Linked DNA regions of Homo sapiens: region 1 is linked to region 2. The links are contacts of gene promoters, found by promoter capture Hi-C in human tissues and cell types (Jung and others, 2019). All regions are on one chromosome and are shown on one strand. Each heading gives the region's core, a stretch centred on a gene start or on the middle of the fragment in contact. The rest is flanking DNA. Distances are from core to core; before and after follow the strand shown.

The links. Contacts are between HindIII fragments. The study calls those that stand out against the background at their distance.
Region 1: a fragment that was not itself captured here is called in contact with the fragment with the promoter of FAM76A in region 2 in 1 of the 25 tissues and cell types used here (mesenchymal stem cells).

The regions. Positions count from the first base shown.
Region 1 is chr1:28,046,837-28,051,205 of GRCh38, forward strand. It overlaps EYA3 (EYA transcriptional coactivator and phosphatase 3), which reads right to left. Exons shown (of 18, transcript NM_001990.4): 3 at 1,547-1,590. Among named protein-coding and RNA genes, the nearest start is that of EYA3, 40 kb to the right of the region's middle. The HindIII fragment of the contact is 5,379 bases long and covers 1-4,369 here.
Region 2 is chr1:27,723,997-27,728,962 of GRCh38, forward strand. FAM76A (family with sequence similarity 76 member A) reads left to right here and starts at 1,965. Exons shown (of 9, transcript NM_152660.3): 1 at 1,965-2,165; 2 at 3,476-3,540. The coding sequence starts at 2,085. RefSeq lists silencers at 1,309-1,951, 1,790-2,489. The HindIII fragment of the contact is 12,090 bases long and covers 1-4,966 here.

The DNA.
Region 1 (4,369 bases), core at 832-3,331, 320 kb after region 2:
TTTCTTTCTTTTTTTTTTTTTAAATGAGACAGCATCTTGCTCTGCCACCAACCCAGGATGGAGTTCAGTGGCGCAATCTTGGCTCACCACAACTTCTGGCCCCTGGGCTCAAGCAATCCTCCTGCCTCAGCCCCGAGTAGCTGGGACTAAAGGTGTGCACCACCATTCCTGGATAATTGTTTTTGTGTTTTTTATAGAGACAGCATCTTGCTATGTCGCCCAGGCTGGTCTCAAACTACTGAACTCAAGCGATCTGCCCACCTGGACCTCCAAAAGTGGAGCCACCACACCTGGCCAGTTAAGTTCCTTTTTTTTTTTGAGACAGAGTCTTTGTCGCCCAGGCTGGAGTGCAGTGGCGCATTCTTGGCTCACTGTAACCTCCGCCTCGTGGGTTCAAGCCATTCTCCTGCCTCAGTCTCCCAAGTAGCTGGGATTATAGGCTCAAGTCACCACGCCGAGCTAATTTTTGTGTTTTTAGTAGAAACAAGGTTCCGCCATGTTGGTCTCTTATAAGGAAGAAACTAAAGTTCTTTTTAAGGGGTGATGGTGAAAAGATGACAGATGATTTAATTGATAGTTTAAGACATCATATGGCTAGCATGGCAGTTCTAGAATAAATGAGCCGGGATGATAGTGTGTGGAGGTAAAAGTGTAGGATTCTTGAAATTAATGTGGTAGAGGTGATGCAGTTACTGGCTCATATGGTTGGTGCACAAACGACAGAAGGTAAGAACTGTGGAAAACTGAAAACCATGGTATGAAGAAGCCAAACTGTGAGGTGCAAACAAGCTGCCTCTTTTCTCTTTTTTTTTTTTTTTTTGAGACAGAGTCTCGCTCTGTCGCCCAGGCTGGAGTGCAGTGGCGCGATCTCAGCTCACCGCAAGCTCCACCTCCCAGGTTCACACCATTCTCCTGCCTCAGCCTCCTGAGTAGCTGGGACCACAGGCGCCCGCCAACACGCCCGGTTAATAATTTTGTATTTTTAGTAGAGACGGGGTTTCACCGTGTTAGCCAGGATGGTCTCGATCTCCTGACCTCGTGATCTGCCCGCCTCAGCCTCCCAAAGTGCTGGGATTACAGGCGTGAGCGACCGTGCCAGGCGCAAGCTTCCTCTTTTCTATAAGAGGAGTGGGGTTAATGACTAAGTCATTTCATAACCATTTGGTAATTAATACCAAATCTCTTGGATTTTATTTATTTCGCTTATGCTTCCTATTCTGTATATTGTACGTCTGACTGAAGAATATGGTGCTTTTCATCTTTACCATTAAGTCTCCTCTATGTAGCACAGTGCCTGATATACAACATGAGTTTGGTACATATTGTTGAATAAATAATGAATGCATAAGAACAAATCAGTGCACAAGTTTCAGGAAAAAACTATTTGGAAAGGAAATTTTAATCTTAAACCAAATAATTTCAAAATGTAACAGCTGATGGTAAGAACCAAAAAGAGGGCAAAGCATGCCCATACGCTAATCAGCATGTGAAAAAAAAAAACAAAACTTATGAGTAGTTCATTAAAAAGAAAGCAAACTTTACATACCTTATAGTTTGCTCTCCTGATTCCTGCATCTTGGCTTTTTTCACCTGCAAAAATAAATATACAAAGGTATCAATGTACTTGATCTGTTTTTTAAATCATTTAGCTACTCAAACAACAGGCTATTAACTATTACAGGATAACTGTTTAATTTTGTTTAGTCTAGATTTAATTAACCCTTGTTATATTTTAGAGCTAGAAATGAAGTTTGTTTTTTAAATGGAGCTCTTCTTTTTAATGAAAAAAGTGTTCTTCTGATTAAAAAAAAACTGTTTACCAGAATTTTTACTCAAGGTAGACAGAATGTTTACTAGGATAAAGTATCCAAGCTTTGATACAAACTAGTTGGTTTTATACTGTAACAGGCAAATTATATTTAAACAAACAGTAAAGATGGGAATCTAAGTATCATCTACTCATTTATTTAACAAAAATGGCTTTATACTTAAGTTAGTTTAGTGTCAAAAATTAATATGAATTCTTATCAGGTTACCAGTAATTTAGAAAATATTGTTAACCCTGTATTTTTTCTTTTCATATTTCACATTTTCTATTTCCTTCTGGGGAGAAGGCACTTCCATTGAAACAGTGTAAGAATCCACAAATGAAAGATAATGGTTAATACTAATGGATTTTTCTGTTTTCATATTACAGAGAATCTGATTTTAGAACTCTCTGGTTAGAACTGGTTGTAGTAGAAACATGTCTAATATGCTTAGCCATTCAAATTATGAATATTTAAAAGTATTTCAAGCTAATAGAAGAAGGCAGAAACTCTCCTAGATAATTTGAAGCAAGCGTATCAGGTGGAATCATAGATATTTAATATTACATTGACTATTTCAGACAAGGTAAATAATACAGGCAAGCCCCATAAAATTTGTCGTGGCCATATACTCCTCATGAGAATACACAACCATGACCAGACATTCTTGGTTCCTTGCTTATGGCATGTCAAAATGTGTTCCATTCAATGTTCTCTTAATTTTCATAGTTACCAAAAAGGAGAAAATAAAGAAACAAAGGCAATTTAAAAAAACATTTCTAAATTTGAAACAAAAATTACATTAAAGCATTTGAAGCAAAAACAAAAAACGAAACCTTGAGGTGGGCAAATCCTGATTAAGCATGACATTAAATCCAAAAGCCATAAAGGAGAAAATAGATATGATTACACAAAAATTTTAAACTTCTATATGATAAAAGACACCATAAAACAACCAGGAGGTTGAGGGATTCCAGGATAGTATGCAGACTGTGACAAAAAAATCTAACTGTATTACCAATGTATACGACTATCTCACTGAAAGAGGTGAGGGAAATATGATCTGACCTAGATAATATAGGAAAACAGTGTTTTGCCTGGAAACTATAAGGCTAAAGACAAGAAAAATTCAACTATCTAGTTTATCTGCCTGCCATAATTTCACAAATGACAAAATATAGCCTTTTTTTATAAAATGTTCTGCCCTTCCTACCTAAAGATGATAGTAGTTACATATGGTCAGATAATAATATATTCTTCCAATAGTGGAGATGAATTTATGCTTAGCTCATCCAAAGACTCTTTGCTATCAAAGAAATGTAATTACGAGCTGGTTGGCTGAGTAACCAAAACAGTCTATACTCTTCAAACAGTAATTTAAACAAAGAAAATTAGAGCACTGAGGAGTCTAACTTATCATAGTCTTCATTTTATTAGAGGTATAGAGCAACAAATTTAGTTAATCAACTCCAAAAGAAAAAAGGATTTAAAAAAAAGGTCCTGGAGCAACATTTTTAAATTTACTTTTTATTTATTATTATTATTATTATTATTATTATTTTTTTTGAGACAGGGTCTTGTTCTGTCACCCAGGCTGGAGTGCCATGGCGTAATCTCGGCTCACTGAAACCTCTGTCTCCCGGGTTCAAGCAGTTCTTGTGCCTCAGCCTCTCGAGTAGCAGGGACCACAGGTGCACACCACCATGCCCAGCTAATTTTGCTATTTTTTCTATTTTTAGGAGAGACCGGGTTTCACCACATTGGCCAGGATGGTTTCGAACTCCTGGCCTCAAGTGATCCGTCCACCTTGGTCTCCCAAAGTGCTGGGATTACAGGCGTGAGCCACTGCGCCTGGCCAAAAATTTATTTACTTTCAAGGAAGAATTATGCTTCTTTACGCTCCTTCATTTTTAATTTATTACCGTGCCAACCCAGTGCAGAGTATATATTCATAAATAGAAAGGGAGAAAATGTATCTAAAGTCATATCTACCAAGCAGAAAAGTCTGGGGAAGGAAAGGGTGTTACAATGTTTTTTTTGTTTTGTTTTGTTTTTAACCTCATATGGCCCATTGTTTGTCTTGATTTGAGCAATTATGCCCCCCTCTAAGGCAGGGATAGGAAGCATGTACTAACTAGGCAGTAGAGGCAGGTAAATTAACTAAAGAAGACAGACAGATTTTACTCAATTATAGAAGTATCAGTTCAAACAATACAAGCTAGAAACTGACAGAAAATGATTCCTGGTTGTTAAGAGAAATAGCAAAGATTGAGCAACAATTTTCTGGAGAGTTTACAGAGTAACATAGTACTTGCAATAATGAATACTGAAAACTACACAGCAAAGTGAGCAAAGATTCAAGTAGCAACCAGTCCTACAGAGAACAATTTTCATTAACAAAACCAGTATAGATTATACAAGCAGCTGGTATCCAAGGAATTGGGGCCATACCAGGACAGTAGTAGGACAGTAATACAAGCTGCCAGGAAGTAAGAAAGCAATAAAGCTGAAAAAGCTCCGTTAGGGTTAAAAGTGAAAAAATCAGAATCTCTTTTTGCATG
Region 2 (4,966 bases), core at 715-3,214:
CTGTTTTTATTTGTATTTGCATATATATTTTGAGACAGGGTCTCACTCTGTCACCTAGGCTGGAGTGCAGTGGCATAATCATGGCTCAGGGCAGCCTCGACTGTCCAGGCTCAAGGGATCCTCCCGCCTCAGCCGCCTGAGTAGCTGGAACCACAGGCTCGTGCCACCACACCCGGCTAATTTTTAAAAAAGTTTTTTTGTAGAAATGGGGTCCCACTGTGTTGCACAGGCTGGTCTTTTTTTTTTTTTTTTTGAGACGGAGTCTTGCCCCGTAGTCCAGGCTGGAATTCAGTGGCATGATCTTGGCTCACTGCAACCTCTGCCTCCCAGGTTCAAGCAATTCTCTTGTCTCAGCCTCCCGAGTAGCTGGGACTACAGGCGCCTGCCACCACGCCCGGGTAATTTTTGTATTTTAGTAGAGACAGGGTTTGACCTTGTTGGTCAGGCTGGTCTGGAACTCCTGACCTCAGGTGATCCTCGGGTGATTCACCCGCCTCGGCCTCCCAAAGTGCTGGGATTACAGGCGTGAGCCACCGCGTCCGGCCGACCCAGGCTGGTCTTAAATCCCAAGGCTCAAGTGATCCTCTGGCCTCAGCCTCCCAAAGTGCTGGGATTACAGTTGTGAGCCATCCCGCCCCGACTCATGTACTGGTTTTGATTCTCACAATGACCTCATTGTACAATTGAGAAAAACGAGGCCGTGAGAAGTTCAGTGATAGATCCAAGGTCATGTAGTTAGTTGTGGAACAGTGATTTGGAAACTTTGCTTTCTGATCCTAATGATTAATGCACATCTTTGGGGGATCCTACAAGGAAGCAGCCAGATTTGGGTTCAGAGAGAGTAAATTTTTTTTGTTGAGGCAGGGAAATAGAAGCCATTAAGTCAGTTTTTAATTGTAAAAAGCGCACGTTGAGGTAAAACTGCAATTAGTCCTGTACGGGTGGTTGGCAGAGCCAAGAGTAACCTATGCCCAAGAGCAGCTACAAGGCAGGACTTGGATAGGTCAGCAGTGCAGGAAGCTTTGCCAACACCTCAAGAACAAGAAGTCTGTCATTCCTTGGGCAGCTCCTATACATGCCAAGCTGGAGCCAAAGAGAGGCAGGGGAGCCCGGAGGGCGTGGCTTGCCTTCCGGAAGTCAGGCCTCGTCAGGAATCACCAGGTGGTTGCTTGCGAGAGAAGCTGGGGGTGAAACCGGAGAAAACAAAGTAGGAAGCAGGTCTGGGCCAATTGCAGCCCACTCTGATGGGGGCCTGCAGGCCACCGGACGCCTGAATATCTGTCCAATCCCTCCTGGAAGGACTGCCATCTCTTTAGTCCCTCTTCCGCAGCATAGGGGTGCTCTCTCTGGGGCTCTCCTTTTCTCTCCTAAGGCCCACAGCCCCACAGTTCCCTATTTAGGTGTCTTAAATTGAGGACACACTTCTAAATTGTCCCTCAGAGTCTCGTCTCCTCCTTTGAGCGAGGCTGGGCGGGCTCCTCCTGCTCCGATTATGAGGAACTTCTTTCCCAAGCTCCCCACCTTCTTTGGGCTTGGACGGCTGCAGAGTTCCAGTTAACTGTGCGCCGCCTTCGTTCCAATTGTACCCCTCGTGCTCCCAGAGGGCAGCTCCATGGAAACCAAAACATCACAAATCCCCGAAGGTATCGCGAGAAGCGCAGATGCGCCTGAGGCCGTGGAGAGGCGGAGCGAGGGCGGGAACGCTGAGCAAGTAGGGCGGAGCCTAAGCTCTTCCGAGGTCCCGGCCGGGAGCCTGTCCCCTCCAGGTGGCGCCCCCGCGTGACTGCGCTTTACATAATCGCGGCCTGGAGCGTCACAGTGGCGTACTCCAGGCCAGACCGAATCAGAGTGGGCGAAAGCTCCGTGTTCCGCCCCTTCCCACTTGATCGACGTCAAAGCCCACCAGTGAGCGGGCGTCTAGAGTCGCCGTGCCCGCCCCAGCCCGCCCGGGTCCGCCCCGACCCGCCTGCGCCCGCCCGCCTGCCGCAGCCAGCAGCCTGCAGCCGCCGCCGGGTTGTGCCTCAGACTGTCAGATAAATCGGCGGGCCGGGCCGGCGGGTCGGTGAGCGCGGCCCGGGCCGGACATGGCGGCGCTCTACGCCTGCACCAAGTGCCACCAGCGCTTCCCCTTCGAGGCGCTGTCTCAGGGGCAGCAGCTGTGCAAGGTGCGCGGGCTGGGGCGGCGGCCGGGAACTGGGGACGCAGGAGGCGCGGCCCGGAGCTCCAGATTCTGTGGGGACGCCCGGCGGGGTCCCCGGAGCAGGGTGTGGCAGGCCCGCCAGGCTGAGGAGCCGCACCCACCCCGCTGGGGGCCGGCGGGGCACGTGCGGGAGCCGGGACCCGGTCCAGGCTCCCGCGGCCGGCGTGTCCGGGTGCTTAGCAACCGTGGGGATTGTTCTCGGACCCCGTGAGGTCGGGGGAGGGACAGCGGGTCCCCTGCTTGCCCTGACTGGTCGCCTTCGGGATCCCTTTGCGCTGCCTCCCCCGCCGCCGCGGTCTCCCTGGTGGGGACCTCCTGCCCCTCCTGGGACTGAACTCCAAAGTTGGGTGCTGCCTTGGAGGAATGTGTCGAACTCGGGCTCCTCACGGGCACTTTTCGACCAGTTTCAGAATCGGAGGTAGCAAGGCTTGATTTTTTTTTTTTTTTTAAGCATCTCACTTTTCGGCCAGTCTCAGAATCGGAGGCAGCAAGGCTTTATGTTTTAAAAAAGCCCCACAGTCAGGCTCACAGATCCGAGGGATCACTTCTCAGCATCCAGTTGGTGGTCTTCGGTCTTCCCTGACTAGCTGCTGATCAGTTTTTGCTCCTGAAGGTCCAACTTCTCTTTTTCTTTTAAGTTGCTTTATCCCACTTTTACTTTTTAAGTGACTAGAGGTGCTGTGAGGCAACAGTTAAAAAGTCACCAAACTGGCTGAAGAATAATGTTGAGGTTATCCAATAATCCAGTTTGTGTCTCTGATTTGGATAACTCATAATTGTCACTTTTGCCTCAGATGGTCATGACTTTCCATTTGCCAGTTTTTATATACCAGGTCTGGGGGAATGCAAGTGCTTGAGTGCCCTTTTTGGCCTCAAAATATGTATATATGATTTTAAGGAAGTTATGTATATATAAATAATAATTTTAATCCAGCACTTTCATTTCACAAGTAAACCGCAAAATCACACAGTGGCAGAAGAACCAGGCCTGGAATTCAGGGCTTCTGATTCCCAGTCTGGGACTTGTTCATATATATGTTTGTTTTACAATTTATGGCTAGTTCCATATAATCCATATAAGTTCTTACTTAACTCCCACATCAACAGTAGGGAAGTGATGCCAGTATTACAGAGGAGAAAAATAAGGCCCAGAAAGTTTAAGTGACTCACTCAAGCATAGTAGCTATGCTAGAAATAGTACCCAGGTCGGCTTCCTACTGAAGGCTGTTTCCATTTGTGACTGCCTTTTAAAATTATATCCTCATTTCATTTCAGGAATGTCGGATTGCACACCCTGTTGTGAAGTGCACCTACTGCAGGACTGAGTACCAGCAGGAGAGGTAGAGTTTTGTTGACCATGAAAGATATTAATAGGCTTTTTTCCTCTTAAAATCTGTAATTGATTGCATTTCATGTACAGATGCTATAATCAGTTGCATTGTAAAATACAGATCTGTAATCAATCACATTATATACAGACTATAATTGCTAAATATTTAGGTCTATGATCCATCTTGAGTTAATTCATGTGTGGGGTGAGATATACAATGAAGGGTATATAATACATGTATTGTTTCCTAGTTATTATCCATTGATTGCTTAAATTTTTTTTTTTTTTTTTTTTTTTTTGAGATGGAGTCTCACTCTGTCACCCAGGCTGGAATGAAGTGGTATGATCTCAGCTCACTGCAACCCTTCCCTCCCAGGTTCAAGCGATTCTTATGCCTCAGCCTCCCAAGTAGCTGAGATTACAGGTGCCTGCCACCATGTCCGGCTAGTTTTTTTGTATTTTTAGTAGACGGGGTTTCACCATCTTGGCCAGGTTGGTCTTGAACTCCTGACCTCGTGATCCACCCGCCTCAGCCTCACAAAGTGCTGGGATTACAGGCGTGAGCCACCACGCCCAGCCTGCTTAAATTTTTAAAGTTCTTTTTAAGACCCTTGATCATTTTATATTGTGATTATAATCTTTTTGTCAAGAAGAAACCAATCCCACAACAGTAAAACATGAGCCTCATGTTTCAATATGTACATACACAGAGATTGAAGAATTTATAAGCCCAAAGAAGATACTTTTGGAAATGTGACAATCCTGATAAGAGTTTGCTAGCTCTAGTCACATTTGAAACTCACTTGCCATTACACTTTCCTTGGGCAAATCTCTTTTTTTGTTTGAAACAGAGTCTCTCTCTCCCAGTCAGGTTGGGGTGCAGTGGAGCCGTCATGGCTCACTGCAGCCTGGACCTCCCGGGCCCAAGTGATCCTCCCACCTCAGCCTACCAAGTAACTGGGACCACAGGTGTGTGCCACCACGCCCAGCTAATTTTTTTATTTTTGTAGAGATAAGATTTTGCCATGTTACCCAGGCTGGTCTCTTACTCATGGGCCCAAGTGATTCCTTCCTCGTTAGCCTCTCAAGATGTTGGAATTACAGGCGTGAGCCACCACGCCTGGGCAAATCTCATTTTTAAAAGTGTGAAATGGGCTGGGTACGGTGGCTCATGCCTGTAAACCCAACACTTTGGGAGGCTGAGGCAGGTGTATCACCTGAGGTCAGAAGTTCGAGACCAGCCTGGCTAACATGACGAAACCCAGTCTCTACTAAAAATACAAAAAAATTACCTGGGTGTGGTGGCACACACCTGTAGTCCCAGCTACTTGGGGGGCTGAGGCAGGAGAATTGCTTGAACCCAGGAGGTGGAGGTTGCGGTGAGCTGAGATTGCGCCACTGCACTCCAGCCTGGGTGACGGGGGGAAACTCTGTCT